3 separate regions of the Homo sapiens genome follow, and all the other regions are linked to region 1. The links are contacts of gene promoters, found by promoter capture Hi-C in blood cells and fetal thymus (Javierre and others, 2016). All regions are on one chromosome and are shown on one strand. Each heading gives the region's core, a stretch centred on a gene start or on the middle of the fragment in contact. The rest is flanking DNA. Distances are from core to core; before and after follow the strand shown. Region 1 holds the start of TRIM3 (tripartite motif containing 3). Region 2 has its middle 31 kb from the start of MRPL17. Region 3 overlaps DCHS1 (dachsous cadherin-related 1).

The links. Contacts are between HindIII fragments. The CHiCAGO score rates a contact against its expected background, and 5 or more counts as called.
Region 2: a fragment that was not itself captured here is called in contact with the fragment with the promoter of TRIM3 in region 1 in 2 of 17 cell types (activated CD4 T cells and total B cells); the score reaches 6.6 in activated CD4 T cells.
Region 3: a contact is called between a fragment that was not itself captured here and the fragment with the promoter of TRIM3 in region 1, in 1 of 17 cell types (neutrophils). The highest score is 5.3, in neutrophils.

Annotation. Positions count from the first base shown.
Region 1 is chr11:6,472,503-6,475,303 of GRCh38, reverse strand. TRIM3 (tripartite motif containing 3) reads left to right here and starts at 1,363. Exons shown (of 12, transcript NM_033278.4): 1 at 1,363-1,513. RefSeq lists a silencer at 1,237-1,466 and enhancers at 824-1,762, 1,763-2,702. The HindIII fragment of the contact is 3,557 bases long and covers 1-2,526 here.
Region 2 is chr11:6,713,073-6,715,873 of GRCh38, reverse strand. It overlaps the pseudogene GVINP1. Among named protein-coding and RNA genes, the nearest start is that of MRPL17, 31 kb to the right of the region's middle. The HindIII fragment of the contact is 1,706 bases long and covers 539-2,244 here.
Region 3 is chr11:6,637,554-6,640,354 of GRCh38, reverse strand. DCHS1 (dachsous cadherin-related 1) reads left to right here. Exons shown (of 21, transcript NM_003737.4): 2 at 1-538. Among named protein-coding and RNA genes, the nearest start is that of DCHS1, 17 kb to the left of the region's middle. The HindIII fragment of the contact is 8,749 bases long and covers 1-2,801 here.

The DNA of each region.
Region 1 (2,801 bases), core at 114-2,613:
TCTTGTGCTATGTGCTGAACTCAGGTGGATAAGAGGTTGAGGCGGTTCCCAAAGCTCCTGCTGCACCCAGGTGTTGAGCCTAAATCTGAACCTTGTGGAGAGGTCACAAGAAAGATCCCTAACAGCACTTTGGTTTAGTCAGGGCTAGGTGTCATCACCTGTATGCCCTTTGGCCAAGGAAACCAGAATTTTTCAGGATTTTCCCCACCTCTGGAAGGCTGGAGGAAGGGGAAGACCCACTCAGCAGATTCCCATAGTGCAGGGATCCTCACAGGCATGACTTTGCCCTTTGTCATGGATACTGCAGCTCCCAGACAGTCTTCTGGGCTTTGATCAGCCTGCAATCATCTGACTAGAGCTTGATTTTTGGGGCAGGGAAGGTGGTCCTTATATGAGCTGCCACTTAATGGGCCACTGGGGATTTTTCAACATGAAAGGTACCGAGTCTCCAAATGCTGGTTGTAGGGCCTAAAAACAGGGCTCAACTCCAGGTTCTGCCACTTTCTAGCTGAGTGATGAGGGCTAACGTCTGGGGAGCAAGATCCCTATTTTTTCCCATTGTAAAATTGGGCTAATAAAAGATGCTACCTACTGACTATTAAATAATATATGTAAAGTGGCTAGTTCTGTGTCGGCACATAATAACCACTCAGTCCCTGTAAACTGTTACAATTATTTTCCACTTGGGGCTGCTTTTTGCACAAGGCGATGATTCTGAGAATTGTCCAGTGTCTTTGGTGTGAGGAAGGGAGTCGCTGGATGGTCTGAACCAGAATTTCCTCAGGAGGGGGCTCCTGAAGCGCCCAAAGCCTAATCAAATCCCCCACCTTTCTACCCCTTAACTCCTTCTCCCAGAGTTCTGGGTACTGCCCTTCTGCCGCCCAGAGATCGTGCTGAGGTACAGACGGTTTCTACGTCTTCCTGGTCAGCCGATAGACTAGCATATTCCATAGGAGCACTCCAAGGAAGCCGGAAAGGGCGCCTCCAGGAGGCAGGCGGCCCAGACAGGCTCCCAGAGTCCGAAATCCCTGCTGCCCCAGCTGCCTTTTCTTGACGGAGTCTCATCTCAATCCCTGAGACCGACTACACCGCCCTTCCCGGAGCCGGAGGCAGCTGGCGGAGATCCGGGATCCGAGATCCGGGATCCGGCTCGCCGGCCCGCCGGCTCCCTAGCAGCACCAAGGAGGCAGCGTCCGCAGGAGGTGGAGGCGTTGGCGGGGGGGCGTGCGGGTGCGGTAGGGGTGGGCAGGCGGGGTGGGCGGGGCCTCCGCGGCGGCGGGCGGGGCGTGGGTGGGTCTTCCCTACTGGAGTCACCCCCTCCCCCGGCCGGTCCGCAGCCCCGCCCCGGCCCCTCCCTCCGGCCTGTGCGGCTAGTCCGGCGGCGGCGCCGGCGCGGGGACAGGCGGAGGCGCGGGCAGGGCCGGGCGGACGGGCGCTGGCAGCAGTAGCAGCGCCGCGGGCCCTTCAGAGTGGCCGCAGTCCGAGCTTTGCCCTCGCATCCTGTTCCAACGCGGTGAGTGCGACGGGCGGGCCCCAAGGGTGCGTTTGTATTCCTGTCAGCCCGGGTCTGGGTCGGAGCGTCTGTGGGTGGGGGCACAGATGATTTTCAAAAGCTGTGCCTCTCTCTGCCCACGTGAGGCGTGTCCATGTCCGTGAGAGCAGCAGGGGGATTCTTCGGGCTGTGGCTGCTCACGTGAGGTCCCTGTTTTGAGGCGGGGAGGCGCGGGTGGATGGGTGATGGTTCCTTAGGGGAGCGCGGGGTTTGGGAGCTTGTGTGTGTTGGCGGAGGGTGCTGAACGCTGCGGCCGAGGGTGGTGGTGGTGGTGCGTGCTGAGTGGGACTCTGGAATATTGTGGCCCATCTTGTCTGAAGGGCTCTTTTCTCCCTGGTGCAGACACCTCCACCCCTTGCTCCCCCACCCCCACCCTACCCCACCCCCCGCCCCTTCCATCCTCTGGTACCCACAGGCCCACCAGTCAGGATGGAGGACACCCTTTCCTCCCCATGCACTGCTCTGTGGACAGAAAGCCTCATGTGGAGGCTGTTTTTTTGTAGGAAAGGACCCCTCTGGTTCTCCTGTAGCCTGAGCCCTGCCTGGAGGACCCCAGGCCCCTCCCTGGTTCTGACCTCCTCCCTTCTGCAATTGGCTTCAGATCCTGGGCTGCAAACCTGCAGGGACAGATGGTTGCAGGTTGGAGGGGCAGGCTGCACCCCAGGGAGGTCAGTTCGACTGAGGGCAGGCCCTGGGCTTGTTCTTGGTGTGGGGGTTCTCTGATGTGGACAACAGAAACTCAGGACTGGCCCTAGCAGGAAGATCACATCTGGGAGGTCACAGCAGGTGCAGAAAACATCACAGGTCTCCCTTGGCCAGTCTGTCTAGCTCACTGGTGCCCATTCATCCCCTAAGCAGGGGATGATTTGCTGCAGAATTGGAATCAGAGCTGCAGGCCTGACAGTAGCCCTGCCTCCTTGGGCTTGTATGCCTCCAGTGACAGAGCACTTGCTACTTTCTGCTGTGGAAAAGCTTCCTTATATTAAGCAGAGGTCTCTCTTCTTGGGACTTTATTCACTTGTCTTGTTACTGCCATTACTTTTGCATCTCTCTCTGATGAAAGGGAACTGCAGAGATTTAAACAGAGCTCTCCTGTAACCAACATATACTGAGTACTTCCTGTGTGCCAGGTACTGCCACAGCCACTTAGGAGACAATGGCATTCTTGCCGAGAGAACTTGAGCAAAGAGTCCATCGTTGGGATAGTATAGCCCAGGTTCAGAAAAGCAGAAAAACCATATGGTTAGAA
Region 2 (2,801 bases), core at 142-2,641, 240 kb before region 1:
GAGATTCTAAAGACAATAGAAGAAGAAGTGAAATCTGCCTCTACTCAGAAGAGATACACATTTACAAATACATTTATCATTGACTTATGTGTGTGTTTATTTCAAAGAGCAAGAGAGAATTTTAAGGAAATGCACAGGGCATTCAAGAGAGCAAATGATCCTGTAAACTACCTAGAAAGTAAGAAAGATGATTTCTTCACGAGTTTTAAGATCTCCTGTCAAGGAGCAACCTCCATCAAAACATTTGTTGATGTTCTGTGGTATAAGCTCACTCCTGCAGTCTCCACTACTATATGGGAGGACATGACCTTTAAAATTGCGGGGGACATGCGAGCTACCTGCCCTGCGTTCAATGGAAACAGGACTAACCTGGAGAAACACATTCTCTTCTCTCTGGCAGAAGAAGAAAACTTTGATAATTACTGGGAATACCTTCATAATTCAAAATCGTTTTTTAGGAGTTACATCAAAAATCATATTAAAAGATATTGTTCAGACAATGGAGGTGAAAAAATGAAGACTTTTTTTGAAAAAAGCTTAATTGATATCAAGAATACCATCCTCTCTGCCATCCATGAATCCACATCAGTAGCTAAAGATAAAAGCAGCACTGCTTCTGAGTGGTTGGATTTATTCTGTGATTGCCTGGGGTGCAACTTGATCTTTCCACGAAGGGACTTGATAAGCATTGAACACCAGGAGATAAAACATACTGAATTTCTTAAAGAAGCCATGAGTGCAGCTTTGGATCTCACAATGAAGAAAATAGAACAGAATTATTCAAGTAAGCCTATAGAAGCAATGGTTTCTAAAATTGAGAAAATGCTCTCTGAACATCTCTGTGGCTGCTGGAAACAGTGTCCCAGCTGTGGAGCAATTTGTACAAACACAATTCCTACACATGAAGGAGACCATAGTGTTCCCTTCCACCGTCCTCAGGCTGTCAATGGGGAGGAATGGTATGAAACAGATGATTTTGTCATTGATTGCTGTACTAGTTTGGTTGCAAGTGATTGTTTGTTGGTTTTGAGGGATGGCAGGAATTTCCCATTTAAGAACTATCGACAAGCAGGAGGGGATTATGCCATGTGGAGCATCACCCCAGATACCTCCATCCAGCTATACTGGAAATGGTTTGTCTCTCACTTCAGATCAAATCTAGAAGAAAAATATCAGAAAAAATTTGCAGGTAAAGGTAAAATCCCCAATGCATGGGCCAAAATCACAAAGCAAGATGTGCTTGAAGACTTGAAAAAACAGTAATACTCAGTGACCACAAAAGAGCCCCAGTGTCTGAAGAAAAGAGGCAGTGTACCTGAACAATCCAAAAACAACTACTCATTACAATTAGAACCTTCATCATTTCCATGTTTAAAATGAAATGTGTAAAAATCAATCAATTAACACATTAAGAGATGAAAATTTCCAGTAAAAGGACTTCATTTCTCTCTGCCTCAATTCCTCTAGTTTAAAAACAACTTACTAAAATCTGTTAATATATGATGAAATCAAATAACATTCATTTTAGAAACCTATTTTGTATTTTAAACTATTATTCTAGATATTGCTTTTTTATTTTAAAATATTTAAGTATCAGAGAAAGTCATTTTAACAGAGAAAAATCAAAATCATTTCAGGCTGCAACAAATTTCTATAGAATAACTGTATCAGTATTTCAACCAATATACATGTCTTGACTGAAAGCTATAAACTGGCTCACTGCAACGTCCACCTCCCGGGTTCAAGTGATTCTCCTGCCTCAGCCTCCTGAGTAGCTGGAACTACAGGCACACACCATCACTCCTATTTTTTTTTGTATTCTTAGTAGAGACAGGGTTTCACTGTGTTGGCCAGGCTGGTCCTGACCTCAAGTGATCCACCCATCTCGGCCTCCCAAAGTGCTGGGATTACAGGCATGAGCCACTGAGCCCAGCCAGACTTTTCAATGTTTAAGTGGATTTTTTTCACCCTCTAAAGTTTTAAGGAAAAGTTATTAATCTTTAAATGTAAAAACATTCATGAGTCCCAAGCATAGCAATATTTAGGCATATTCTGTTCTAGGAAAGAATAAAGCAGAGACTTGACCAAGATAGGGATGTCATCAATTCAGGAAACATTATCAAGCAAATATGGAAAGTAGAAATCAAATAACTGTTTTTCTCATTAACTTTCACCCTGTTCTTCCCTGGTATGTTGGCAATTCCCTGCGCATGCTAAGAAAAAAAAAAAAACAGTCACAAAGCTTTGTTATTCAAAGCTTGGTGTTATGTACAAGTCTGAGAATTGGCTTTTGGAAAAAAATTTATGATGACCAAATAAAATGTACCATTTTAATGAAGTCTGTGGACAAGGTTCAATTAGATTGGTTATTTTAAAATGATTCATTGATTATTTTAAACTGATTACTTAAAGAAAAATATCAAAAAGTATACAGTTTTAAGGCCGGGCATGGTGGCTCATGCCTGTAATCCCAGCCCCCTGGGAGACAGGGCAGGCAGATCACCTGATGTCAGGAGTTTGGGACCAGCCTGGCCAACATGATGAAACTCCATCTCTACTAAAAATACAAAACTTAGCCAAGCATGGTGGCAGGCACCTGTAATCCCAGCTACTTGGGAGCCTGAAGCAGGAGAATGGCTTGAACCTGGGAGGCAGAGTTTGCAGTGAGCTGAGAACAAGCCACTGCACTCCAGCCTGGGTGACAGAGCGAGACTCCGTGTTGAAAAAAAAAAAAAAAAAAAAGTATACAGTTTTTACAAATCTCCTAATACACTTAACTGGGTTCTAATATTTCAATAAGG
Region 3 (2,801 bases), core at 91-2,590, 170 kb before region 1:
CATCTATCTGGTGTGTGTGGCTCGGCGGCTGGATCGAGAGGAGAGGGATGCCTATAACTTGAGGGTTACAGCCACAGACTCAGGCTCACCTCCACTGCGGGCTGAGGCTGCCTTTGTGCTGCACGTCACTGATGTCAACGACAATGCACCTGCCTTTGACCGCCAGCTCTACCGACCTGAGCCCCTGCCTGAGGTTGCGCTGCCTGGCAGCTTTGTAGTGCGGGTGACTGCTCGGGATCCTGACCAAGGCACCAATGGTCAGGTCACTTATAGCCTAGCCCCTGGCGCCCACACCCACTGGTTCTCCATTGACCCCACCTCAGGCATTATCACTACGGCTGCCTCACTGGACTATGAGTTGGAACCTCAGCCACAGCTGATTGTGGTGGCCACAGATGGTGGCCTGCCCCCTCTAGCCTCCTCTGCCACAGTTAGCGTGGCCCTGCAAGATGTGAATGATAATGAGCCCCAATTCCAGAGGACTTTCTACAATGCCTCACTGCCTGAGGGCACCCAGCCTGGAACTTGCTTCCTGCAGGTGGGTAGGCCTGGCACATAGCAAGATAGTGTTGGGGGAATCTGAGAGCCACAGGGGACCTCAGAGCAGGAACCAAGCCTTACAAGGTCATCTGTTGATGGTGACTTATGCTAGAGGGTTCTGCCCTATGTTGTAAGCTCCAAAATCTGTGCAGAGGATGAGGGTTAATGAGAAGATGAGAAAGCAGGGTGCAAGAGCTGAGGCAGATGGTCTTGGCAGGTGAGGAAATTAAGATTGGATCTAGTGGAGAAATGATTTGTGGTGTCAGGAAATGAAAGCCTCAAAGCTGTTCTGCAGGGCAGAGATGGAGATTCTACATACGTATGTGGCTTCTGTTCCCCAAAGAAGACACCAGAATTTATGGGGCCCTCCATTGCTTGTCAAGTGCTGGGTTGTGCTGGAAGAAATCCTCATCCCTGCCCTCAGAGCTGAGCCTTAATAGGCCATTTGGTCTCAGACATGAGAATGAGAGATAGCAAGAATTATCTCAATATCCAGAGCAGGAAGGCCTCTCAGGGGAAGAGGCAGGAACCCTGGACAGGCTGAGAAAGACACATACTGGCTGCAAGTCAGTCCTGGAGAAATGGAGGGAACATGAAACTGGAAAGGCACTCTGAGGCCAGGTTGCAGAAGTCCTTGAACACAAAGCAGTAGTTAGGACTACTTGGGAAGCAAAGGAGCTCACTGAACTTCTTTTTTTTTTTTTTGAGGCGGAGTCTCGCTCTGTTGCCCAGGCTGGAGTGCGGTGGCATGATCTGGGCTCACTGCAAGTCTGCCTCCTGGGTTCACGCCATTCTCCTGCCTCAGCCTCCCAAGTAGCTGGGACTACAGGCACCTCCACCACACCCAGCTAATTTTTTGTATTTTTAATAGAGACGGGGTTTCACTGTGTTAGCCAGGATGGTCTTGATCTGCCCTCGAGGAGATCACTGAATTTCTTTGAGCTGGGAAGTGAATGATCAGGTTGGGTTTTATTAAGTTAGCTATCTGGCTTTAAGGGTGATTGGATCAGCAGGTGTGTGACAGATCGTTCCTTGATTCATATGTTCAAGATTTTATTTAACTACTGTAAGCCTAGCACTGTGCTAGGCCCAGAGAACAAAGAAAAGAGACAATCCTGTTCCCAGGGTGGTCACAGTCTAGATAGGGAGACACATCAGCAACTAGTGCTGCAGCAGGTGGCGTATGAGTGCTGTGGAAGCCCAGAGGAGGGGCCTTGAAGAACTAATGAAACTTTGCCAAATGGATAATATGAGGTGTGCAGATGGAGACTCCAGGCCTAAGGAAAGAGCTGCTGAACAAATACCAGGACGTGTTCAGGAGACTGTATTGTTCAGGCTGGCATCAGCTGTACTAATGAGAAAGAGTCGGGGGAGATGAGAAAAGACAGTAGACAGGAGCCAGGTCACAAATTCAACTTTATCTTGAAAATCATAGGGAGCAAGTGAAGGACTCTAAGCAAATCTGATATGTCTTTAAGAAAGATTGCTTTGGCTGCACTGTGGAGAATGGCAGCAGGAGAGAGGACAGTGGGCAGGGAGTCCTCTTAGGAGGCTGGTGCTTAGTGTCCTTATGTCTCCAAACTCCACCAGACTCTTGAACATCTCCTCAGGGCATAGACTTCCAGGCTAGCTCTGGGCCTGGCTGACCTCTTGTCCTCTGGCCAGACTCTGCATATTTGCTCGCCTGCTGCTGTGCAGCTCCACCACCCACTCTTCCACGTGTTTACTCTCCTTCTTGTCCAGGACCAATGGGCTATGGCTTCCAGACTTCTCTCCTCACTAGTGCCTGAAGCAAGAGGGCAACTCTCCAGGTGGTTTCCTGGAGTTTTTACTATTAGTAACCATAGAGAATCGGGGTAAAAATGACCATTTGGGGTTTACAACTGTCACAAGAAGTCTTAATGTTTGATTTATTCAATATACATGTATTGAATGTCTACCATGTGCTAGTCACTGTATTAGAGACACGGAATACAGTCATGAATGCGTCACTCCCCTCATCTTAAGGAGTTTATAGAGGGGAGATTCATGTGCAAAGAAATAGTTTCATTCCAATAAGAACATTTCCATTTGGGGATATATATGAGGTACAGATAGGCAGTATGAGTGCTTTCCTGAAGGAAGGGATCCCTGAGTTGAGACTTAAAGAATGAGCAATTTATGAGAGTATCAGATGGGGGAAGGCTTCCAAGCAGAGGTGAGGTGCACAGAGGTGTGGGAGGGCCCAGTTTGTTCAAGGGCCTACTAGGGGCTCAGGATCT